Linked DNA regions of Homo sapiens: region 1 is linked to region 2. Evidence: promoter capture Hi-C in 16 types of primary human blood cells and fetal thymus (Javierre and others, 2016). All regions are on one chromosome and are shown on one strand. The core of a region is centred on a gene start or on the middle of the fragment in contact, and the rest is flanking DNA. Distances in the headings are between cores, read along the strand shown.

Region 1 (6,557 bases), core at 3,900-6,399, 2.3 Mb after region 2:
TAAAATTTAATAAAATTATATATTCAACCAGTTAACTAATTAATGTCAGTTAAGATTAAATCAATTGCATATCTAATTTATGCCCAGCTTCTCATGGAAGAAGAAGCATGAGCTAACAGAATGAGGAGGCTGCTAAGAAATTTAACAAAATATTAAACCGTAATAGTAGAAGCGTTTTGTCCAAACTGAAGCAGGAAAAGATAACACTCTTTGTAGCTGTAGTCTTTTCATGCCTGAAATATTATGAGTGAAATCTGGATACCCAACTGTATCAGTCAGTTCTCGTACTGCTATAAAGAAATGCCTGAGACTGGGTAATTTATAAAGAAAAGAGGTTTAATTGGCTCACAGTTCCTCAGGCTGTACAGAAAGCCTAGTGGCATCTGCTTCTGGGGAAGCCTCGGGGAGCTTTTAATCATGGCAGAAGGTAAAGCAGGAGCAGGCGTCCTACACGGCTGAAGCAGGACCTAGAGAGAGGGGGAAGGTGCAACCAGATCTCCTGAGAATTCACTCACTATGCAGTACCAAGGGGGGACGGTGCTAAACCATTCATGAGAACTCCGCCCCCATGAGCCAATCACCTCCTACCAGGACCCACCTCCAGCACTGGGGATTACATTTCAACATGAGATTTGGGTGGGGACACAGATCCAAACCATATCACAAACTTTCAGAGATGCTGAACAGGTAGGCCCTCAGAGGTGGTAGGAAAGAAGGATGAAGAGAGATCTTTGACGAGTTCGGCATGTCAGGGACGTTTATTCAGGAAAAGAGAATCTCTAGGGAGCAAATGCCAGGCATGTTCAGTTCATTGGAAGGGAGGTCATGTGGAAGGTGAGTGTTGTTATTTTGTCTGCCTCCAGAGGGCAGAAATAAAACCAGTGGGAGAAAGTTGTAAGGAGGCAGTTTCAGAAGACCTGGGTTAGAACTACAGTTGTTGATAATAAGCTGTCTCCACAGGAATAGGTTTTCCTTTCCCTGGTGCTGTTCAGACTGAGGCTGGGTCCTTAGTTGTAATTGACATGGGAGCCAAGATTTCTGCTTTGGGAGGGACAGTGGGAGTCTATCAACCTGTGATTTTTAAGAGCCCTGTCAATCATTCAGCTTCTACCTGAATAGTTCTGGTAACTGTGGGACAGATCTCTTTGTTTAAAATGTGTTTTTCTTTAAATAAAACATTGAGCTAAAATTTGCTTATCTTGCCTTGAACAATAGAAAAGGCGGCAAAACCACAGATGTGACTGGTGAAGTTGTTGGAGAAATGTGCTTCACTGAAGTGGCAGTGTTGCTTTTAAAACAAGATGAATTGGCTTTTGGTCAGTGTTCATATTGAAGCTGGTGTCAGATATGGCTCAGGACATTAGAATAAGTAGTAGATGCAAAGAGTTAATGCCTTCTATTTAGGGTCAAGAGTATTATTATTATTATTATTATTTTTGAGATGGAAGTTTGCTCTTGTTGCCCAGGCTGGAGTGCAATGGTGCCATCTCAGCTCACTGCAACCTCTGCCTCCTGGGCTCAAATGATTCTCCTGCCTCAGCCTCCCAAATAGCTGGGATTACAGGTGTCTGCCATCATACCAGGCTAATTTTTGTATTTTTTTTTTTTTTTAAGTAGAGATTGTGTTTCACCATGCTGGCCAGGCTAATCTCGAACTCCTGACCTCAGGTGATCCGCCTGCCTCAGCCTCCCAAAGTGCTGAGATTACAGGCATGAGCCACCATGCCTGGTGGTCAAGAGCAGTTTTTAAGAGTAGGGGCAGAACTGAGCCTGCCTTGGGAACCTAGCAACTCGAGCTATAGGGAGAAGAAGGACATTGAAACTGAGAATGCAGCTGGGTCTTGTAGATATTACGTGTTACTAGTCATAGTGATCTTTGAGAGAGAGTTTCAAATTTAAACATTTTAGACTACAGAAGTGTTCAGAAAAGTTGAATTGTTTGAGACCTTTTCAATGCTAGCTTCAATACTTTCATTCTTTCCTGTGTACTACTGTTGCATTTTTTGATATAAATTATTTGAGATGAAGAAGTATGACTAAGAATCTTTTTAAAATTTGGACTCAGCCTACATTGCATAGGTGGTAGAAGGGTTTAAGAGTCTCTATATTTTGTTATAGGCCTTAACTTCTAGGCATCTTCATTTGGATGTTAACTTTTGTATTTGAGCAAATCTTAAGGTGCTTTTGGAGCAAAGTTTTAGCCAGGACTATAGTTTCATAATTTGGGACCTAGAGCAGCAGATTATGCAGGTTGTCAACACCAGATAGTCATACTCATTGCCTTAGGTTGAGGTCCTTCTTCCTATTCCCAGAACCATGACTCTGGTGTAAGTCTTATCATTTCCAAAGTAGGTTCAGGGCATGCATCTCTGACATGAGCCTTGTTCTATATCCTGCTGCTAAGATAACCTTGAAACCTATTTTAATTACTTCATGCCTCAATAATCCCACAGTGTTCTCACTGTATTAAATCTAAATCCCTCAAAGTATAGGTGAGAGCCCTCTATCACAAATTCCACCTTTTTCTCTGAAGCTTCCAATTCTGTCCTATTAATCCTTTTAAGAAATATATCTTTATTAATTCATTTACTCATTCATTCATTCATTCATTCATTCAAGGAGTAACCAATATTTATTTACTGAGTACCAGGTGCTTGAGTTTTTTAATCCTCACAACAACCTTGACCAGAAGGTTTATTAAAGATCACAATTTAACAAATAAGAAAATTCAGGTTCAGAGAACTTTATGCCCAACATCACTCCTTTTCTCTCATTATGTTCTATGCTCTCTCCAGTGTACCATACTTCCTCTCATTTTGCAAACATTTAATGGGCTTTTTTTCTGTGCCAAAACTGGTGTTAGGTGTTAGGGCAAAGAAGATGAATGAAACACTGAGATCATATATATGAACATGCATGTGAAATTATAAAGCATTATATGAAAATTGAAACTTTTTCTTCTTAATAAGAAAAAATTCAGTCTAGTGGAAGAAACAGGAATAAATAACTTTGTCCTCCAAACTTCCCTTGCCTACTTTTACCTCCTTTGCCAAGCTTGTCCTTCAACCTGAATTTGACCTTTCACATTCTGAAGTTTGCTCACTTACCTAGTCATTCAGATTCTTCCACATACTTTACAATTAATTCATTCACCAAACACAAAGGGGTCTTATATTCAAAGCAGAATTCTAGGTTGATACTAGGGATACAAACATGAACAAAACTCAGTCAAGTGGAAGAGATAAAGTATAACTAACTTCAGGCTGGGCACAGTGGCTCATGCCTATAACCCCAGCACTTTGGGAGCTGGGGCAGGAGGATTGCTTGAGCTCAGGAGTCTGAGACCAGCCTGGGCAACAAAAATGAAAAAAAAAAAAGAAACATTAAAAAAAAATTAGCCAGGCGTGATGGCACACACTAGTAGTCCCAGCTACTTGGGAGGCTGAGGTGGGAGACTCGCTTGAGCCTAGGAGCTTGAAGACGCAGTGAGCTACGATCATGCTACTGCACTCTAGCCTCAGAAAAAAAAAAAAAAAAAAAAGACTAACTTCAGAGCAATGTGAGAACTGACAAGGATTATAAGATTGTGGGGAAAAGAGGTATGAGACTGTAGGGAGGAAAGGAGGGAGTGGTTTTAGCCGGAGATCAAGGATGAGTAAATGATCTTAAATAGGGAAGAAGAAGTATGTTTCAGAGGGAAGGCACGTACAAAGGGACACAGGTACCTTCTGGAGCCATGAGTGATCAGCTGGGCTGAAGGCATGGCACCTGAGGAAGCCAAAGAGTCTGGAGCCAGAGAAGGCATTTGGACTCAAATGGGATCTATTGGATTGTACCCTATTGGCACTAAGGAACTACTGCCTACCCCCCGCCCCGGCTTCTCATGCAGGACTATGACCTAGAATTGGAGTTATGTTATAGAAAGATGGCTTCAAGTTCCCCTTTGAGGAGCTCCACAGTAAATAAGCCATTTAGGAGAGAGGTCCCCATTTCTCTGGACTCACCATTGCCTCCAAAAAAAAAAAAAAAAGGCTAAAATCTCCCCAAAAGAATGGCAAATGAACAAGGGAAGGAAGGAGCTATTTCTTAGTGTTCTTTAGACTTTAACAGAGTATTATGTACTGCTATTATTATTTTTTAGGTTAACAAAAGTAATACATTGTCTCTAGTGACTCCCTGAATGCTCCTTTGTAGCTTAATAGTTGAGGCTGAATGTAGCTATTCAGAATACCTGGACAGCTATGGATGGAAGGGGCTTCTCTAGGCTAACTTTTGCTCTCTTGTCTCCTGAATAATCTGAGGGGTGGCATGGGATGCAGTCTGTTAACCTCTTAGAGCCTGTACAACAGAAATACATTACATTTGACTTAATATGAACTCAACAGTTATTTAATGAGTCCTATTGTGGTCCTTGCACTGTGCTATATTTTACGGATATAAAGATAAAAGTAAGAAACAGTCTTTGTCCCTGAGAAACGCATTGTGAAATAAGGCTGGGTGAGTTGGCTCACGCCTGTAATCTCAACACTTTGGGAGGCCAAGGCGGGAGAATCACTTGAGCGACAGAGTTCCAGACCAGCCTGGGCAACCTATTGAGACCCCCTCTCTTCCAAAAAAGGAAAAAAAAAAAAAAAAAAAAAGGGTGCGGTGGCTCATGCCTGCCCCGTGCCTGCAGTCCCCAAAACAAACAACAACAACAACAAAAAACAAAAAACAAAAAGAAAGAGGAAAGAGAGATTTTAACTTAAGTATAATAAAAATTGCTCATACTATGTTAGTTGTATGAATAAAATGCTGTGGGAAATGTGGGAGTAATATAGCTCACAAGGTTGCTGTGGGGGTTAACAACAACAAAAAGCGAAATATATGTGTAAATGAAAAAAAGTCAGTTTTAGGCTTAATTATCACTGAGTAAACATTGCCTTTATATTACTTTGGCGATCTGCAGAACGCGCAGCCCTCGCCATTCAGGAGTTGTTAGTTCCCTAAGCCTCAGGTTTCTTTAGTCTGGCTGAACCAAAAGGAGTTTCTGCTTAGCTAGGCAGGGCCGGGGGACAACAGCTTCTGCGAGTCTGCGATTGTGGCGGCCGGTATATTCGGCGGTTTACGGTAATGGGCGGGCCCCAAATCCCCATGTGGTCCCGACATCATTGACATGGCGGAATCCCCCATCAAACCCTCCTGGTAGTTATTTGAGCGGCGGCGGCGGCGGCTGGAGGAGGAGAGCGGCGGCGGCGGGAGCAGCGAAGGGGGCGGCAGGGATCCTCCAGGCTGCCGGCTGGGAAGGCGTGGGCGACCCGGTGTGTGGCGCGCCCAGAGCCCCGCGTTTCAGCCCTAGGGAAGGTAAGGCGTGCAAGAGCCGGGGACTAGAGGAGACCGGGACCCCGAGCGCGATCGCCGGGTCCCGGTGCACTGGAAAGCCCCGGCCTGACGCCGAGTCCGCCAAAGTGCGTCCCTGTCCCGGGAGCGCCCTGGGCTTCCCGGCAAAAACTTGGCGCCGGAGTGCTGGGGCGCCCCGTGCTCGCCTGGGCACCCCGGGAACACGGGACCCGGGAGGGGGCGGCCCCCGCCTTGCTGGGCTGGGGTCCCCCGCCTGTGCCCCCTGCCTCAGGGTTTGGAGGAGTGAAAGAAACGGGTAGATTCCTCTTAAAAAAAATTGGGCAGTGGCTCGCGGCCTCCCCCCACCCCCAGCCTTCCCAGCAGATTTTGTCCGAGGAATCCGCTCCCCCTCCCGGAATCTCCGCGGCAGGAACGCTGCCCAGGAGGGGGAGGGCGGGCGGCGAGGCCGAGGAATCTTCGACGTGTCACTTTCTGAGGCTGTAGATTTCCATATGGTGGAGGGAAGAGGGCGGGAGTGCGAAGTGGGGCTGGAAGTTGGGGCCGCCTCTCCGCGCCGGCGGGGGCGGTCGGGGGCCTCGAACCCGGGGATGCTCGCGGGGAGGGTCCCGAGCCCGCGCCGGCCTGGCCCCCCCGTCCCCGGCTGGGCCTCTCCGGGACACTCCCCGCCCCGCTGCTGGCCACCTCCGAGCACGCCACGTCCTCCTCCCCGTCCTGCCCCCCGGGCTCCCCCCGGGCTGGGGGCGGTAACCGGCGGCCGCGGCCGGACTTGGCGAGCCGGCGGCTGGAAGCTCGGGCGGGGGAGCGGGGCGCGGCGGGAAGGAGCGGGCGACCCGGTGTGTGGGCCAGCGGAGCTCCGGTCAGTCGGTCACCCCGAGGGGCGCCTCGGCCGGGGATAGGGCGGGCGGGCGGAATCTGCGCCCCGAGGCGGCCAGGAGGGGCCGCGCGGACCGTCTGGTGCCCGCGGCTGGGCTGGGGCCGGCAGGCGTGGGAAGGGCCTGTCACTCTCGGCAGAAAGTGGGGCCTCGGGCTGTGCCCGCGAACTTTCCCAGAGGTCCGGGTCCCGGCGTCCCGTGGGAACCGGAGGACCCGGGCCCGCCGTCTCGGGAGACTGGGCTGCGCCGCCCGGCGGCGCCTTTGGCGGGGAGGCTTCCAGGAGTGCGCGGTCGGAGTTGGAGCTTTTGGAATCTCAGCTCCCACCCTGCCATCCCAGACGAAGG
Region 2 (6,324 bases), core at 1,412-3,911:
AAATACATACATAAACAAAAATTTTAAAAACAAAATCAGTCTATTAAACATGCCCTGAATATGCTTTGTTCATTCTCATCTTTAGCAACTTGTTCATTTTAGTATGCTTGCCTGGATATCTGCGCTCCATCCCAATGCCACCCCTTCCATGATGGCATACCTCTGCTATGGAGTCTCGTTCCTCACCACAGCAACCTTCTTTCCCTAAACTTCAATAAGCTTAAATCTTATCACTCATTTGGCACATAGCATATTGTACCACAAATGCTCTCTTCCAAGGGAAATATAAGCTCACCAACGTCAAGTTATAGAAGAAACACTATGGGAAACATTATTTTAACTTGGTTCTACTCAATAGACATCTGTTCTTGAGCTTCACCATTATTATCCCCCAAACCCATTATAGAAATACAACAGAAATATTGGCATCCCAATAGGTGAAGTATTTTCTCTTCTCCCAGAAACATATAATATCCAAAGTTTTCTGTCACATATACTCAAAACATTTTCTTCCAACCATTTTATCTGTATTTCAGAAGCATCTTTGGTGTACTATGTTGGGTCCAACTTCTTTAAATTCTGCAGCAGTGATCCACATGTCCTGGAAGGCAGACAAGGATGCAAGAATAGAACCTCCCATCCACACTGATATTTTCCTTTCTGGAGGAGCTATAACTTGCACAGCGGTGTTGGCAGGAGCCACCTTTGCTATATCCTTAACTAACCGCTTGTCTAAACCAGGGAAAGAGGTTGATCCCCCGGCAAGGATAATATTGGAAAAGAAGGAATTCCTCAGGCCTGTATCACATTTCATTATGCTGCTGAAGCATATCTTATCAATGCCAGGGGCCTCAAGGTTCATATGACACGGAGAGAAGAGGGCCTCTGGACAAGAAAAGAGCTGGTCATGGAGCTGGATGACCTTCCCATCAGGTAGTTGGTAAACTTTCTCTAGACAATCGGGTTTCTTGGCCATTTCCTCTTCGTAGTTCATTGCCACATAACAAAAGCTCTCCTTGATGTCTTCAACAATCTTTCTGTCTGAAGCACTGAGCAACATGATACCATGGTTCTTCATTAGCACCATGAGGTAGTTGGTGAGGTCAAGGCCTGCCAGATCCAGTTGCTGCACACCATGAGGCAGACAGTAACCCTCAAAGATGGGCACACTCTGGGTAACCCCAGCACCTGAATTCAGCACAAGGCCAGTAGTGAAGCCAGCAGCAAAGAGAGCCAGCACAGCCTGGATGGACATATAGAAGGCAGGAACACCCAGATGCTCAAAAAACATTTCCGTGATCTGTTGCCGGTTGGCCAGTGGGTTCAGCGCTGGCTCAGTAATCAAGACTGGGCCATCACACGGCTTCAGCTTTAGGTTATAGTCATAGATATGCTTCCACATGATCTCCATGTCCTCCCATGAAGTAATGAGACCACGCTCCACTGGGTAACTGTAAGGAAAGCAATAAGATCAATGACAGCTTTTTATTTTTCTAGTTTCTATTGTCTTCGACCCTCAGTTAATTCCCCGCGTTTATTACCAATATCCCTTTATGGGCAATAACTGCCACAGCCTCTCACAGCAGGTAAGTGTCAGCCAAAAATAGCACAGCTACTTACCTCTGCAATTTTTTTTTTTTTTTTTGGAGACAGAGTCTCGCTCTGTCACCCAGGCTGGAGTGCAGTGGCGCGATCTCAGCTCACTGCAAGCTCCGCCTCCCGGGTTCACGCCATTCTCCTGCCTCAGTCTCCTGAGTAGCTGGGACTACAGGCGCGCGCCACCACGCCCGGCTAATTTTTTTGTATTTTTAGTAGAGACGGGGTTTCACCGTGTTAGCCACGATGGTCTCGAACTCCTGACCTCGTGATCCGCCCTGCTCGGCCTCCCAAAGTGCTAGGATTACAGGCGTGAGCCACCGCGCCCGGCCTACCTCTGCGATTTTTGTTGCTTTCCATTTTCTCTGTCCTTTGGAACCTTGTGACTTTTAAAAAATTGGGAAATGTCCACATTATAGTATAGTTTAAATGTCAATTGAAGAGAATAACCCAAGTGACAAAAGGGACCATGAGTTAATATTCTTAAATGAATTCGTTCGATAACTTTATACGTTTTAATACATTTGTATAGCCACAGAGAGCAAAATGTTCAGTTTTTAGATGTGTGGTACCCTTGGAGATTTGTGGCCCGTGCGTTTGTAGTAATTCCAGCTGGATGGGGCTTTCCAGCTCCCGGCTTTCTTATTCTTTCTGTCCCCATTGCGCACCTCCTTTGGGGTCCTTTCCTGCCCCCCGACAACACCCCCAGTCCCCCCACCCCCAGCCACCCCAGCCCCACCCCCCAACCTCCCCAGCCCCACCCTACCCCACCCCCACCCCACCCACCCTCCCCAGCCCCAGCAGCCTGCTGGGAGAAGGAGGTACCTGATGAACAGCGAGCTCCTCCAGTCCTGAGCTTGGTCGCCCACGCAGAGTTCTAGCCCGCCCTGGGCCGCGCGGCTCTGGCCCTTGGCGCGGCCGATAATGTTCGGGTAGATAAACTGGGGCTCCCGGCACCCAGCCACGCCCGCCTTGATCATTCCCGAGCCGTTGTCGATCACCACCGGTAGCTGGCAGTGGTTCATGCCGCCGCTGCTGCCGCCGCCTCCTGTCTCTGAGCCGCTCTAGCTACGGGCTCGGCCGGGGCCGAGTGCCTGGAACGCCGCGTCACAGAGGCCCCGGCACGGCCGGGTGAGGCCAGAGTCCTGGGGGCGCAGGCAGGGGGTCGGCAGGGCCCCAGGCGGAAGGACTCGCTGGACGCACCGTGCTCCTCATGTTACCGCCCGCTATTGCTTCTCGCAGGAATTGGGCCACCCCAACACCTGGAATCCCGGAATCCCAGTATCAGGAAAACCCGACTTTCGCATCAAAAGATTCAACTCTAACCCTTCACAAGTGCATTTCTCAAATACCCAGAAGAGCTATAACAGCAGTTTTATTTTCCAAAGCCACGGAATTCTGGTTAACTGGTGGCGGTTCCGGGGAGTTCTAGAATTCGCCCTTGAAACTGGGGAAAAATGAGACTTAAGAGGAGAAAGTTGTTGCAGGAAGGGAGGCAGTGTCTGCTTCTGAAATGTTAAACTTCTAAAATAAGGAGAAAAATGCTGGAATTTAAATGAGTTTTAAGTACGTTTATTATTGTTTCTGTACCTTGGGCAATGCTTTGTTGTGTTTCTTCCTGTGATTTCCAAGCAAAATGTACGCAATTAAAACAAAATAGTAGTTCCTAGCTTAAATATGTAAATAAATATAAATTTATATATATTTATATAAATATATATAAATTTAAATATAAAATATTAAAAAATATATAAATTTATATAATTTATATAAATATATGTTATATTATATAAATATATTTATATATTTATAAAATATATATTTATATATTTAAGCAAGGATATAAATCGAAATATATATATTTATATTTATTATATGTATAAATATAAATATATAAAAATTTATATTTATATTTATTATATGTATAAATATAAATATATAAAAATTTATATTTATATATCATAAATATAAATATATAAAAATTTATATTTATATATCATAAATATAAATATATAAAAATTTATATTTATATATCATAAATATAAATATATAAAAATTTATATTTATATATCATAAATATATAAAAATTTATATTTATATATCATAAATATATAAAAATTTATATTTATATATCATATATAAAAATTTATATTTATATATCATATATAAAAATTTATATTTAGATATCATATATAAAAATTTATATTTAGATATCATATATAAAAATTTATATTTAGATATCATATATAAAAATTTATATTTAGATATCATATATAAAAATTTATATTTAGATATCATATATAAAAATTTATATTTAGATATCATAAATAAAAATTTATATTTAGATATCATAAATAAAAATTTATATTTAGATATCATAAATAAAAATTTATATTTAGATATCATAAATAAAAATTTATATTTAGATATCATAAATAAAAATTTATATTTATATATCATAAATATATAAAAATTTATATTTATATATCATAAATATATAAAAATTTATATTTATATATCATAAATATATAAAAATTTATATTTATATATCATAAATATATAAAAATTTATATTTATATATCATAAATATATAAAAATTTATATTTATATATCATAAATATATAAAAATTTATATTTATATATCATAAATATATAAAAAATTATATTTATATATCATAAATATATAAAAAATTATATTTATATATCATAAATATATAAAAAATTATATTTATATATCATAAATATATAAAAAATTATATTTATATATCATAAATATATAAAAAATTATGTTTATATATAATAAATATATAAAAAATTATGTTTATATATAATAAATATAAAAATTTGTTTATATATAATAAATATAAAAATTTATGTTTATATATAATAAATATATAAAAATTTATGTTTATATATAATAAATATATAAAAATTTGTTTATATATAATAAATATATAAAAATTTATGTTTATATATAATAAATATATAAAAATTTATGTTTATATATAATAAATATATAAAAATTTATATTTATATATAATAAATATAAATATATATATTTCGATTTCTATCCTTCTGGTGTAATCTGCAAGCCTCATTCGCTACTCTTGATTTTTAGGCTGAAGGACGTGCCTGTCTTTTTGCAGGAAAAGTGAAGTTTATCAGGTCATATGAAATTCAAGTTTGGAAAAATTTGAAAGTACATTGCATGTCAATAAACGCATCTTGGTGTCTGATTCTGCATACATCTGTAGAGAATTTGAAAACAAGCAGTCAATTTAGAACTTCTGCTTGGTCTTCGGAAGCAAAAAGAGGAAATTCAAAAGTAATTTTACACGTCCTTCCACCAGAAGCTGAAAGGATGGCTTTTTCGCGGCTGAATAACGAAAGCCCCCTGCTTCGCCCCGGACTCTGAGCAGCTCAACCTGCGGAAAGGATGTGTAATAAAACGCCTTTCCAGGGAGACAAAAAAAAAAAAGGCCACCCAAAGGAAGGGCAACTCGGGAGTGCCTGGTTTCTACTGCGGTACCCGGGCACTTTGGAAGAAAGTGCGTGCAGATTCAAGCTTTTGAAATGGTTTCAGCTCTGTTCAATTGGGCATAGGCTATTTTTCCTTTTCTGTTTTTTTCTTTAAATACATTATATTCATTCCTCTCAATTTGATAATAATCACTTGAGAATTGCGAATTGACACTTACATATCAAGGACTTTACAAAACCCTCTCCAAAGTGGGGTTTCCGTAGTGTAGTGGTTATCACGTTCGCCTAACACGCGAAAGGTCCCCGGTTCGAAACCGGGCGGAAACACACTAAAAAATCCCTTTTTTTTTTTTTTTTTTTTTCCTTCGCTTGGAAGAAAGCGTGAGATCACGCTTTGTTTTCTTTTGTTGTTTGTTTTGTTTTTTTTTCTGAGGGAAGCCTTAGCTTAATGTATGCCGGTCCTTCAAAAGACATGATAGCAATTTGAGAGTCTGAACTGTAAGTTTTTGTTACTTTATTCGTTCACCAAATGTTTTTATGGAAGCCTTGCCACGTGGAACATGTGTCCCGGGTTTTAAAAAATGAATTTGACTCACCAGCTAACACTGAAAAAATAATGTACAGCCTAGAAGGAAAGATCAAAGTGTAAAAGTGGTTAGTCCTGTCGCCTCCTGAGCATTTTTGTATTATATCACTTGGTTTTTCGTCTGAAGTGGCTGTAAATAATCGTATTAAAAATCTTCTGGTCCAGACGCAGGAAAACCTTTTCCGGTATAAAGCCCACCTTCCTCTAATGTTGCGCATGCCCACTGTGCCCAGCTGCTCCGCTTTCGTGCATCCCAGACTTCTGTCACCAGGTAAGGGCATCTTGGAAGCTGAGCTACAGTTGGCTGGGGCACAAAAAAACCAGGGGGTGCCAAGAGTTTTCAGGTACGTAAGCGGGAAAGGGGTGCCAAGTCTCAGCTAAAAAATCCCCTATGGCAGAGATCCGAGTACACATGCAGCAGTTTCCACCGGTGGGGCCCCGAGGAAGGGGAGGATGATGGGAGAAGACAAGCAACTACAAGCCCCCGCACGCAGTGCGCAGCTGGCTTCAGGAGAGAGGCCCGCGGTGCTGTGCTGCCGGGCCTCGGCGCAGAGCCCCGGCAGAGCGCCAGACGCTGACTGCCGGCACCAGAATGCTCGCGATGAGGAAGACAGGCGGAGCGCTGCGAGCTAGCGAGCCCTCAGCTCTCGTATCCATGACGC

What was found. Contacts are between HindIII fragments. The CHiCAGO score rates a contact against its expected background, and 5 or more counts as called.
Region 1: the fragment with the promoter of FNDC3B here is called in contact with the fragment with the promoter of ACTRT3 in region 2 in 1 of 17 cell types (non-activated CD4 T cells); the score reaches 7.5 in non-activated CD4 T cells.

Annotation. Positions count from the first base shown.
Region 1 is chr3:172,034,429-172,040,985 of GRCh38, forward strand. FNDC3B (fibronectin type III domain containing 3B) reads left to right here and starts at 5,150. Exons shown (of 26, transcript NM_022763.4): 1 at 5,150-5,343. RefSeq lists enhancers at 1,847-1,906, 4,970-5,637, 5,638-6,304 and silencers at 5,223-5,402, 5,543-5,642, 5,823-6,072, 6,133-6,502. The HindIII fragment of the contact is 7,479 bases long and covers 3,053-6,557 here.
Region 2 is chr3:169,766,900-169,773,223 of GRCh38, forward strand. ACTRT3 (actin related protein T3) reads right to left here and starts at 2,662. Exons shown (of 2, transcript NM_032487.5): 1 at 2,422-2,662; 2 at 22-1,451. The coding sequence starts at 2,621. The coding sequence ends at 533. It overlaps TRV-AAC1-1 (tRNA-Val (anticodon AAC) 1-1), which reads left to right and starts at 5,331; the gene lies at 5,331-5,403. RefSeq lists enhancers at 1,385-1,529, 2,391-2,650, 2,742-2,886, 5,047-5,146, 6,037-6,324 and 2 more, cis regulatory regions at 1,457, 2,814 and a silencer at 2,731-2,800. The HindIII fragment of the contact is 4,942 bases long and covers 218-5,159 here.